Regions from separate parts of the Homo sapiens genome. Here regions 2 and 3 are each linked to region 1. The links are contacts of gene promoters, found by promoter capture Hi-C in blood cells and fetal thymus (Javierre and others, 2016). All regions are on one chromosome and are shown on one strand. The core of a region is centred on a gene start or on the middle of the fragment in contact, and the rest is flanking DNA. Distances in the headings are between cores, read along the strand shown.

Region 1 (3,735 bases), core at 1,236-3,735:
AGGCAACAAACACTTTGATGTATTCTGGCCCACACAACATTTTGTAAAATCCCAGCAAGGCAATAAGGGCTACTTAAGTGGAGTAGTGAGATGCAAAAGTCAGAGTGCAGTATCCTGAAGGATAAAAGGTAGGTGAAGAACAGCAACTAAGTGGAATTCATTGTTCTTTGAATAAATTTGACTTGTGAAAGGGTGACACAGAACATAAGACAGAATGTTCTGTTTAATGGGTGTCTAATGTCTAGTGGGGTCCAGAAAAGTGTTTTTTTGTGTGTATGTTTAAGAATTTAAAAAAAACCTAATTATCTGAACACTAAGGGGAGAAAACTTAACTTCTCTATGTTCAGCAATTGGCACAGTGTTTGGAACATACTAGGCACCCAAAGATTTGCTAGAAAAAAAACATTATGAAGGGACCAATAACAAGAGGAGCTGAAGATGGCGAGGGGGTACTGATAGGAAAAGAATCATGAGTAAATAATAAACCTCATATGAGAAAGATATACACGATATGTATCTATTTAAGATGTAAAATGATAAACGACAAAAGTAAGAGCATTAGGCATGGGGAGGCTTTTTTGTATTGTATACTCCTGCCCATCTGAAATTTTTAGTAAGAATAGAATTATCTCAACTTTCAGACTAAAAGGTATAGTGTGAAAGCTTCAGGGAGATTTGTAACAACAGTAAATAAAATGAATTGCGAGGACAACTGTCTGGGAAGCCATGACAGAAGTCCAAAAGAGAAGTAATGGCAGGCACATTGCGGGATTGGTGGCAGTGAAAATGGAATGTGAATGACAAAGATTTTTAAGATAAGAAAACCATGGCTGGCGTTTTTTGTCCATTAAATGAAAAGCAGGAAGTCAGCAGAGTAGCTGGTTTGTGGAGAAAGAATACTCACACATCGATGTGAATTATTTCAATTAGAAAATGATACTGCTTTCTTAGGGCTTTCTTAACTAGGGGTGATTCTGCCCTCCAGGGGACATACTAGCAATATCTAGAGACATTTTCACTGATCACAACTGGGTAAGGGTAGGGTGGGGAACGGGTGTCCTACTGTAATCTAGTGAATAGAAGCCAGGAATGCTGCTAAACATCCTACAATGTTTGAGCACAGGATAGCTCCCCACAATAAAGAATTATGAGGCCCAAAATGTTAACAGTACTGAGGCTGAGAAACCATGTTTAAGACTATAGTTACCGAAACTCAACTAGATTACCAAACTGCCAAAACTCAGAATTCTTAAGCAAAAGATTAATCAGACATTAACAAAACATTAAACTTGTCATTAAGTTTCTTCAAAAATGGATGGTGGAACCATTTCCGTTTAACGTTTCCTGCAAAATGTGCTTATCAAGAGCCCTGCGCAAATAACATTTTTGTGGACAGCGCTGGGCATTTAAAAGAGGCACAAGACAAATGGGTTTTCCGAACAATAAAATAATAGTAGTAATGGCTGTGAATACTATGGGAGGTTTCATCACAGATGCTTGCCATTTACTTTTAGGGACGTCGCATACGACGTCCGTAAATTACTGGCTCGGGTTTTGAGCTTTACCTGGCTCTCGTCCCCTGTAGTACAATCCTCTTTATTCTTTCAGGGGACAAACAACAACAAAACCCGTCTCTCACACAGACAATACACCCTGACAGACAAGTGACCCACAAACAATCCCTCCTCAAATGAAGGTAAAACTAGGGCTAGAAAACGTTCAACTAATTTAAGGCAATTAACCCTCTGAAATTTTTCGCTGATCAAAGGAACAGGAATTGCTGTTTTAAAATATGCAACTGGCATTTCACACCTCTACACTGGACGACGTATTGCGTGGAGGATGGAGAAGGAAGATCACCCCTACTCCCAAATTCGTAGTTATAAGGGCGGGTTATTAGAAGGGCGCCAGGAAGGTCTCTCTACAAAGATGGGGGGCCGGGGAACTCCCTATTTGCCCTATTTTGGTCCCAACACTGAACCAAGGAAATTGCGCCCAAGGTTGAAGCACACGCAATCCGTCCGTCATGCAGACAAATGCTCTTTCAGGGGTCCTAATTAAGTGTGGAGGCCTGACTTTCCTTCCGAATCCGCCCCAGGTGTTCCACCCCGAGCTTCCCCTCGGGCTTCCCCTCGCCACGCAGCCTCTGAAGAGAGGAGCATCTACATACAAAGAGGCTTAAACTGCCCAGAACCTCCGAATGACGAAGAATCACCGCCAGTCTCAACTCGTAAGCTGGGAGGCAAAACCCCAAAGCTTCCCTACCAAGGGAAAACCTTTGGCCTCAAAGGTCCTTCTGTCCAGCATAGCCGGGTCCAATAACCCTCCATCCCGCGTCCGCGCTTACCCAATACAAGCCGGGCTACGTCCGAGGGTAACAACATGATCAAAACCACAGCAGGAACCACAATAAGGAACAAGACTCAGGTTAAAGCAAACACAGCGACAGCTCCTGCGCCGCATCTCCTGGTTCCAGTGGCGGCACTGAACTCGCGGCAATTTGTCCCGCCTCTTTCGCTTCACGGCAGCCAATCGCTTCCGCCAGAGAAAGAAAGGCGCCGAAATGAAACCCGCCTCCGTTCGCCTTCGGAACTGTCGTCACTTCCGTCCTCAGACTTGGAGGGGCGGGGATGAGGAGGGCGGGGAGGACGACGAGGGCGAAGAGGGTGGGTGAGAGCCCCGGAGCCCGAGCCGAAGGGCGAGCCGCAAACGCTAAGTCGCTGGCCATTGGTGGACATGGCGCAGGCGCGTTTGCTCCGACGGGCCGAATGTTTTGGGGCAGTGTTTTGAGCGCGGAGACCGCGTGATACTGGATGCGCATGGGCATACCGTGCTCTGCGGCTGCTTGGCGTTGCTTCTTCCTCCAGAAGTGGGCGCTGGGCAGTCACGCAGGGTTTGAACCGGAAGCGGGAGTAGGTAGCTGCGTGGCTAACGGAGAAAAGAAGCCGTGGCCGCGGGAGGAGGCGAGAGGAGTCGGGATCTGCGCTGCAGCCACCGCCGCGGTTGATACTACTTTGACCTTCCGAGTGCAGTGGTAGGGGCGCGGAGGCAACGCAGCGGCTTCTGCGCTGGGAAATTCAGTCGTGTGCGACCCAGTCTGTCCTCTCCCCAGACCGCCAATCTCATGCACCCCTCCAGAGTGGCCCTTGACTCCTCCCTCTCCTCACTCCATCTTTCCTGGCCTCTCTCCGGGTGCTTAGCGGACTTGGCCAATAACCTCCTCCTTTTAAACGCCCTGAATTGAACCCTGCCTCCTGCGCATCCTCTTTTTGTGTCACCTTAGGGTTCAGATTTAACTACGCGACTTGACTAGTCATCTTTTGATCTCTCTCTCGTATTTAGTACTTTTAGTCAGCGAGCATTTATTGATATTTCAACTTCAGCCTCGCGGTTAAGAGCTTGGGCTCTGGAATCATACGGCTGGAATTGGAATTCTGTCAGTCGTGTGGCCGCTCTCTACTGTCTTGTGAAGATAAGTGAGATAATCTTGACCTGTGGTGAGCACTCGTGAGCGTTAGCTGCTGTATTTACCAGGTACAGATAAGACAACTACAGTGGATGATAATGTATGTGGTGATAGGGGAGTACTCTGATGGTAGAGGAGTGACTTTGGTTCTCTGCAAACTCAGCCTGAGACTATCAATTCAGTTTGTGGTGAGACCTCGCAGTGTTACCTTGGCAGATGGTAGAAGCCTTCCAGATGGAAGGAAAAATGCGTGTAAAGGCACAAAGTGT
Region 2 (3,735 bases), core at 411-2,910, 5.9 Mb before region 1:
TCCTCTGGAAGCTTCATCCCAGAGGGGCACCCACCTATATGAGGTGTCTATTGTCCCCTACTGGGAGGTGCCTCCCAGTTAGGCTACACAGGGACCCACTTGAGGAGGTAGTCTGTGCTTTCTCAGAGCTCAAACACCATGCTAGGAGAATCACCACTCTCTTCAGAACTGTCAGACAGGGACATTTAAGTCTGCAGAAGCTGTCTGCTGTCTTTTGTTCAGCTATGCCCTGCCCACAGATGTGGAGTCTATAGAGGCAGTAGACCTTGCTGATCTACAGTGGGCTCCACCCAGTTCGAGCTTCTTGGCTAGTTTGTTTACCTACTCAAGCCTCAGCAATGGCAGATGCCCCTCCCCCAGCCAGGCTGCCACCTCACTGTTTGATCTCAGTCTGCTGTGCTAGCAGTGAGCAAGGCTCCATGGGCATGAGACCCACTGAGCCAGGCACAGGAGAGAATCTCCTTGTCTGCCAGTTGCTAAGACCTTGGGAAAAGTGCAGTATTTGGGCGGGAGTGTCCTGTTTTTCCAGGTACATTCTGTCCTGGCTTCCCTTGGCTAGGGAAAGGAAATCCCCCAATCTCTCGTGCTTCCCGGGTGAGGCAATGCCCCACCCTGCTTTGGCTCGCCCTCCGTGGGCTGCACCCACTGTCCAACCAGTCCCAATTAGATGAACCAGGTACCTCAGTTGGAAATGCAGAAATCACCCATCTTCTGCATCGATCATGCTGGGAGCTGCAGACCGGAGCTCTTCTTATTCAGCCACCTTGGAAAACAAGTCTTAGTCAGATGGTTTTAATGTCTAATTTTTTTAATCTATTCTAAATAAGAATTCACTTAACATATGCATTAGTCTATTCTTACATTGCTATAAAGAAATCCCCGAGGCTGGGTGATTTACAATGAAAAGAGATTTAATTGTCTCATGGTTTGGCAGGCTTTAAGGAAGCATAGTGCTGGCATCTGCTTCTGGTGAGGCCTCAGAAAGGTTACAATCATGTTGGAAGGCAATCGGGATCCAGCATGTCACATGGAGAGAACAAGAGCAAGAAAGAGAGGGAGGAAATGCCATGCCCTTTTAAAAATAACCAGATCTCAGGTGAACTAACAGAGTGAGAACCCACTCATCATGAAGGTGATGCCATTCATCAAAGATCTGCCCCCATGATCCAATATCTCCCACTTGGCCCCACCTCCAAGATTGAGGATTACATTTCAACATGAGATTAGGAGGAGTCAAACACCCAAACCATATCATTCCCCTTCTGGCCCCTCAAATCTCATGTCCTTCTCACATTATAAAATACATTCATCCTTTCTAACAGTCCCCCAAAGCCTTACCTCATTCCAGCATCAATTCAATCAAAAGTCCAAAGTCACATCTGAGTCTCAAGTTGAGTTCTTTTTACCTACAAACCTGTGAAGTCAAAACAAGTTATTTACACCCAAGATACAATGGTGGTAGAGGCATTGAGTAGACACTCTATTCCAAAAGGGAGAAATCAGCCAAAAGAAAGAGGCAATTGGCCCCATGCAAGTCTGAAACCCAGCAGGGTAGGCATTAAACTTTAAATTCCAAAATAATTTCCCTTGCCTCCATGTCCTGTATCCTGGGCATACTGGTGCAAGATGTGGGTTCCCAAAGCCTTGGGCAGCTTTGCCCTTATGGCTTTACAGAATGCAATTTGTGGCTGCTCTAATGGGCTGGAGTTAAGTTCCTGTGGCTTTTTCATGCTGAGCTTGCAAGCTGCTGTGGCTTTACCATTCTCAGGTCTGGAGGTTCGTGGCCCTCTTCCTACAGCTCCACTAGGCAGTGTCCTGCTGGGGACTCTGTAGGGTCTCAAACCCCACATTTCCTCTCAGTACTGCCCTAGTAGCATTTCTCTGTAGGGACTCTGTCCCTACTGCAGGCTTCTGCCTGGGCATCTAGGCTTTTCCATATATCCTCTGGAATCTAGGTGGGAGTTGCCAAGCCTCCTTTACTCTTGCATTTTGTACACCTGCAGCCTTAACACCATGTGGAAGCTGCCAAGGCTTACAGTGGTTTGCACTTTCCAAAGTGGCAGCTTGAGCTGTACCTATGGCCCTGTGAGCCATGGGTGGAGCTGGAGTGGCCAGGATGCAGAGAGTGGGGTCCTAAGACTGAGCAGGGAAGCAATGCCCTGTGCCTGGCCCCTGAAATAATTCTTTCCTCCTAGGCCTCTGACCTGTAATGAGAGGGGCTGCCTCAAAGATTTCTGAAATGTCTTTAAGTCCTTCTTCCCATTGTCATGGATATTAGCACCTGGCTCCCTTTTAGTTATGCCAGTCTCTTTAGCAAGTGGTTGGTCCACAGCCTGCTTGGATTCTTTCTCTACCACAGAGCCAGGCAGAAAATTTTCCAAACTTTTATGCTCTGCTTCCCTTTTATATATAAGTTCCAACTTATTTAAGTCATTTCTTTGCTCCTTCATCTGATATAGGCTCTTAGAAGCAGCCATGCTACATCTTTTTTTTTTTTTTTTTTTTAGACAGAGTTTTGCTCTGTTGCCCAGGCTAGAGTGCAGTGGTGCTATCTTGGCTCACTGCAAGCTCTGCCTCCCAGGTTCATGCCATTCTCCTGCCTCAGCCTCCCGAGTAGCTGGGACTACAGGCGCCCGCCACCACGCCTGGCTAATTTTTTGTAGTTTTAGTAGAGACGGGGTTTCACCGTGTTAGCCAGGATGGTCTCGATCTCCTGACCTCGTGATCCACCCGCCTTGGCCTCCCAAAGTGCTGGGATTACAGGCGTGAGCCACCGCGCCTGGCCCATGCTACATCTTGAATAATTTGCTGCTTAGAAATTTCTTCTGCCAGATACCCTACATCATCATTCTTAAGTTCAAACTTCTGCAATTTCCTAGAGCATGGACACAATACAGCCAAGTTTTTTTGCTAGGGTGTAACAAGGGTGGCCTTTGCTCCAGTTCCCAATAACTTCCTCATTTCCATCTAAGACCTTGTCAGCTTTGCTCTCACTTTCCATATTTCTATCAGCATTTTGGTCACAACCATTCAAACTTTCCCTCATCTTCCTGTCTTCTTCTGACCCCTCCAAACTCTTTCAGCCTCTGTTTGTTACTCAGTTGCAAAGCCAATTTCACATTTTCAGGTATCTTTATAGCAATGCCTTCCTCCCCAGTACCAATTTTCTATGTTAGTCCATTCTTGCATTGCTATATAAAAATACCCAAGGCTGGGTAATTTATAAAGAAAAAAAGGTTTAATTGGCTCACAATCCTGCAGGCTTTACCAGAAGCATGGCACTGGTATCTGCTTCTGATGAGGCCTCAAGAAGCTTACAATCATGGCAGAAGGTGATGGGAGCCAGCATGTCACATGGAGAGAAGAGGAGAAAGAGAGAGTGGAAGGAAGTTCCATGCTCTTTTAAACAACCAGAGCTCAGGTGACTGACAGAGTGAGAACCTATTCATTATGAAGGAGATGGTGCTAAGCCATTCATGAAGGATCTGTCCCATGATCCAATACCTCCCATTAGGTTCCACCTCCAACATTGGGAATTACATTTCAACATGAGATTGGAGGCAACAAACATCTAAACCACATCACCATATATGGATTAATTCCAGTATTAGGTTTCTTAGTGTTAATTCAGGCTAAAGAGTAACAATTAAACAGGAGTAAAGACTGACATATATGTACTGATGTCAAAATGTGTTATTGATGTAACAATTGGCAATTAAAAAATCATACTGATAC
Region 3 (3,735 bases), core at 624-3,123, 5.9 Mb before region 1:
AGTCAGAAGAGGAGAGGCTGGGGACTGAGCCAATCTGAGAAGGAACCACTAGAAATGAAAGAAGAATCCCAAGAGCTTGGTATCAGAGAAGCCCAGGGAATGGGACATTTCTAAGAGGAAGTGTGTCCCAGTGTCAGATGCAAACATTTCCATTGGTTTTAGCAAAAAAGCCATTGGTGTTATTAACACCGAAAGCAGTTTTAAGTGATGCTGACTTAATGAGTAAATGGGAGAGGGAAAATGGAGACATTAACCATACACACATGTCCAGTTTGCTTGGCTGTGAAGAGAAGGGGTGATACAGGGTAGTTGCTAGAGTGGAAAGTGTGGTTGAAAGAGGATTTTTTTTTTTTTTTTTTGAGACAGAGTCTCACTCTGTCACCCAGGCTGGAGTGCAGTGGTGCAGTCTCGGCTTACTGCAACCTCCACCTCCCGGGTTCAAGCGATTCTCCTGCCTCAGCCTCCTGAGCAGCTGGGACTACAGGTGCATGCCACCACACCCGGCTAATTTTTTGTATTTTTTTTAGTAGAGACGGGGTTTCACCGTGTTAGCCAGGATGGTCTCAGTCTCCTGACCTCGTGATCCACTCGCCTCAGCCTCCTGAAGTGCTGGGATTACAGGCATGAGCCACCACACCCGGCCGAAAGAGAATTTTAAAAATTTCTTTCATTTGAAAGTTGAGATAGATTTAAGCATGGTTATGTGAAAGGAAAAAGGCCAGTCGAGAGTGACAGGAATGAGAGTTGAAGCAATGAGGGGATGGGATTAAGAACAAGATTTCTGAGGCAGTAGGACAGTGTAGGATCCCATAAGGGGGCAAGTCTTTAACTGAGACAGCAAGTAGGTTGTGAGCCAAAACGGCTTGGATATGAGAACGTGAGAAGGTTCCTGCTCAATGATGTCTCTTTTCTTTGAGAAACAGAAGGCAAAGTAATTGACTGAAAATGAGATGGAGTGCAGTGGAGAAATTTGAGGAAGGTGTTGAAGGTTTAGAAGAGGTGCATAGGGCATGGGCTAGGGAGCTGAGCCTATTGCTAAGGGATGGCAGAGGAGTCTTAAGTGATGCTGGTCCCAGTCTGCAGGGTTGCATCTAGGTGTTGGAAATGATTAGGACAGAGGTTGAAGTGATCTAGGGTTGACATCTTGGCATATTTGTGTATATTTATTGTATAGTTGTTGCCTAAATTTCCACAAATATATGCCTTGCTGGAGTGCAGTGGTGTGATCTTGGCTTACTGCAACCTTCACCTCCCGGGTTCAAGTGATTCTCCTGCTTCAGTCTCCTGAGTAGCTGGAAATACAGGTGCGTGCCACCACGCCCGATGGTTTTTTTTTTTGGATTTTTAGTAGAGACAGGGTTTCACCATGTTGGCCAGCCTGGTCTCGAACTCCTGATCTCAAGTTATCTGCTTTCCTTGGCCTCCCAAAGTGCTGGGATTACAGGCGTGAGCCACCACGCCTGACCTAAAGCTTCTTTAGGATAAGATTTGTGTAAGGGGTTTGCAAACTCAAATGGAGGTGATATAAATGAGAAAAACTCTCAGTGTCTCTCTTTCTCTCTCTCTCTCTTTTTTTGAGACAGGGTCTTGCTCTGTCACCCAGTTTGGAGTGCAGTTATGCAGTCTCACACTGCAAGCTCTGCCTCATGGGCTCAAGTGAACCTCCTGCCTCAGCCTCTCAAGTAGCTGGGACCACAGGCAGGTGCCACCATGTCTGGCTAATTTTTGAGTTTCTTTGTAGAGATGGTGTTTTGCCAAGTCACCCAGTTTGAGGCTGGTCTCAAACACCTGGGCTCAAGCAATCCATCTACCTCAGCCTCCCAAAGTGCTGGGATTACAGGAGTGAGCCATGGCATGAGGCCTTGTGGGGTGTCTCTTTTAAATGAAAGCATACTCTGTTTACGTATTTGATATGAAGGAATATCCTTCCTTTCCACAAAGACAAAAATTATCCTATTTTTCTCAAAACATATGTCCTTTTTCTCTACTTTTCATTTTTGTTACTTTTGATGGACACATGTGTTACATTGATTTCACTTTCTCATAATTCTGCTGTAAGAAAAACAATAGTGCCAGTTCAATGACAAATAGCAACAGTCTGTTATTGCTAGACTGTTACTGTTAGTGGAGACTACCAGAACAGTCAGTCCCAGTGTCAGGGAATCAAAGAGAACATGTTCCCTCTCTAAAGGGCACAGCTGCTGCTCAGCTTTAGCTGATTGCTGCCCTGCAGGACTATAGGCCCAGTGTTGCTAGATCTTTTGATGTTTCAAGAGAAGCTTGGAATCTAGAATGTGATGGGAAGTCTCTTACATTTAAACATGTTGGCAATTAATGGTAAGATTTAAAAATACTGTGGTCCAAGAAAAAAATGGATTTGGAAACTGGATTAAATTCAAATGAGGCATGCAGATTAATCTACAGCATGGTACAATGTGAATTTTCTGGTTTCTTTAATTGCACTGTAATTAGGTAAGATGTTAGCTTTGGGGAAGCTAAGTGCAGAGTATGCAGAAACTATTATTTTTGTAAGCTTTCTCTAAGTATAAATAAATTTCAAAATAAAAATAAAAACTTAGTAAAGAACTATAATGCAATTCTATGTAAGCCAAACATAATATGTCTTCCAGTTTGAAACCTCTGGGTTTTATTTTATTTTATTTTATTTTTGAGACAGAGTCTTGCTGTGTCACCCAGGCTGGAGTGTAGTGGCACTATTTCGGCCCACTGCAACCTCCACCTCCCAGGCTCACATGATTCTCCTGCCTCAGCCTCCGGAGTAGCTGGGATTACAGGCGCGTACCACCACACCCAGCTAATTTTTGTATTTTTAGTAGAGATGGGGTTTCACCATTTTGGCCAGGCTGGTTTTGAACTCCTGACCTCAAGTGATCCACTTGTCTTGGCCTCCCAAAATGCTGGGATTACAGGCGTGAGCCACTGCACCAGGCAGAGGCCTCTGTTTTTTATCTCTTTTTGGCCTCTACAGTGCCTAGTAAAGCACCTGATACATGGTAAACGATCAGTAATTACTAGTACTCTATTTTGGAGAAAATGATTTTTTAAAAAGTCATTGTGTTCCATCCATGAGTCGTTTGAGTTTTAAAACTGTCTTTTTGTTTGTTTTTGAACAGGTTTACAAAGGAGGAAAACGACTTCTTCTAGATTTTTTTTTCAGTTTCTTCTATAAATCAAAACATCTCAAAATGGAGACCTAAAATCCTTAAAGGGACTTAGTCTAATCTCGGGAGGTAGTTTTGTGCATGGGTAAACAAATTAAGTATTAACTGGTGTTTTACTATCCAAAGAATGCTAATTTTATAAACATGATCGAGTTATATAAGGTATACCATAATGAGTTTGATTTTGAATTTGATTTGTGGAAATAAAGGAAAAGTGATTCTAGCTGGGGCATATTGTTAAAGCATTTTTTTCAGAGTTGGCCAGGCAGTCTCCTACTGGCACATTCTCCCATTATGTAGAATAGAAATAGTACCTGTGTTTGGGAAAGATTTTAAAATGAGTGACAGTTATTTGGAACAAAGAGCTAATAATCAATCCACTGCAAATTAAAGAAACATGCAGATGAAAGTTTTGACACATTAAAATACTTCTACAGTGACAAAGAAAAATCAAGAACAAAGCTTTTTGATATGTGCAACAAATTTAGAGGAAGTAAAAAGATAAATGTGATGATTGGTCAAGAAATTATCCAGTTATTTACAAGGCCACTGA

What was found. The method cuts DNA at HindIII sites, captures the fragments that hold promoters and counts their contacts. A CHiCAGO score of 5 or more calls a contact.
Region 2: a fragment that was not itself captured here is called in contact with the fragment with the promoter of NPAT in region 1 in 1 of 17 cell types (non-activated CD4 T cells); the score reaches 6.7 in non-activated CD4 T cells.
Region 3: a fragment that was not itself captured here is called in contact with the fragment with the promoter of NPAT in region 1 in 1 of 17 cell types (total CD8 T cells); the score reaches 5.9 in total CD8 T cells.

The regions. Positions count from the first base shown.
Region 1 is chr11:108,220,153-108,223,887 of GRCh38, forward strand. NPAT (nuclear protein, coactivator of histone transcription) reads right to left here and starts at 2,486. Exons shown (of 18, transcript NM_002519.3): 1 at 2,348-2,486. The coding sequence starts at 2,384. It overlaps ATM (ATM serine/threonine kinase), which reads left to right and starts at 2,915. Exons shown (of 63, transcript NM_000051.4): 1 at 2,915-3,034. RefSeq lists enhancers at 2,382-2,441, 2,852-3,011, 3,322-3,401. The HindIII fragment of the contact is 4,203 bases long and covers 2,255-3,735 here.
Region 2 is chr11:102,300,727-102,304,461 of GRCh38, forward strand. No RefSeq gene overlaps it. Among named protein-coding and RNA genes, the nearest start is that of BIRC3, 15 kb to the right of the region's middle. The HindIII fragment of the contact is 3,302 bases long and covers 10-3,311 here.
Region 3 is chr11:102,318,703-102,322,437 of GRCh38, forward strand. BIRC3 (baculoviral IAP repeat containing 3) reads left to right here. Exons shown (of 9, transcript NM_001165.5): 2 at 3,135-3,735. Among named protein-coding and RNA genes, the nearest start is that of BIRC3, 3.1 kb to the left of the region's middle. RefSeq lists enhancers at 34-83, 954-1,033, 1,655-1,764. The HindIII fragment of the contact is 808 bases long and covers 1,470-2,277 here.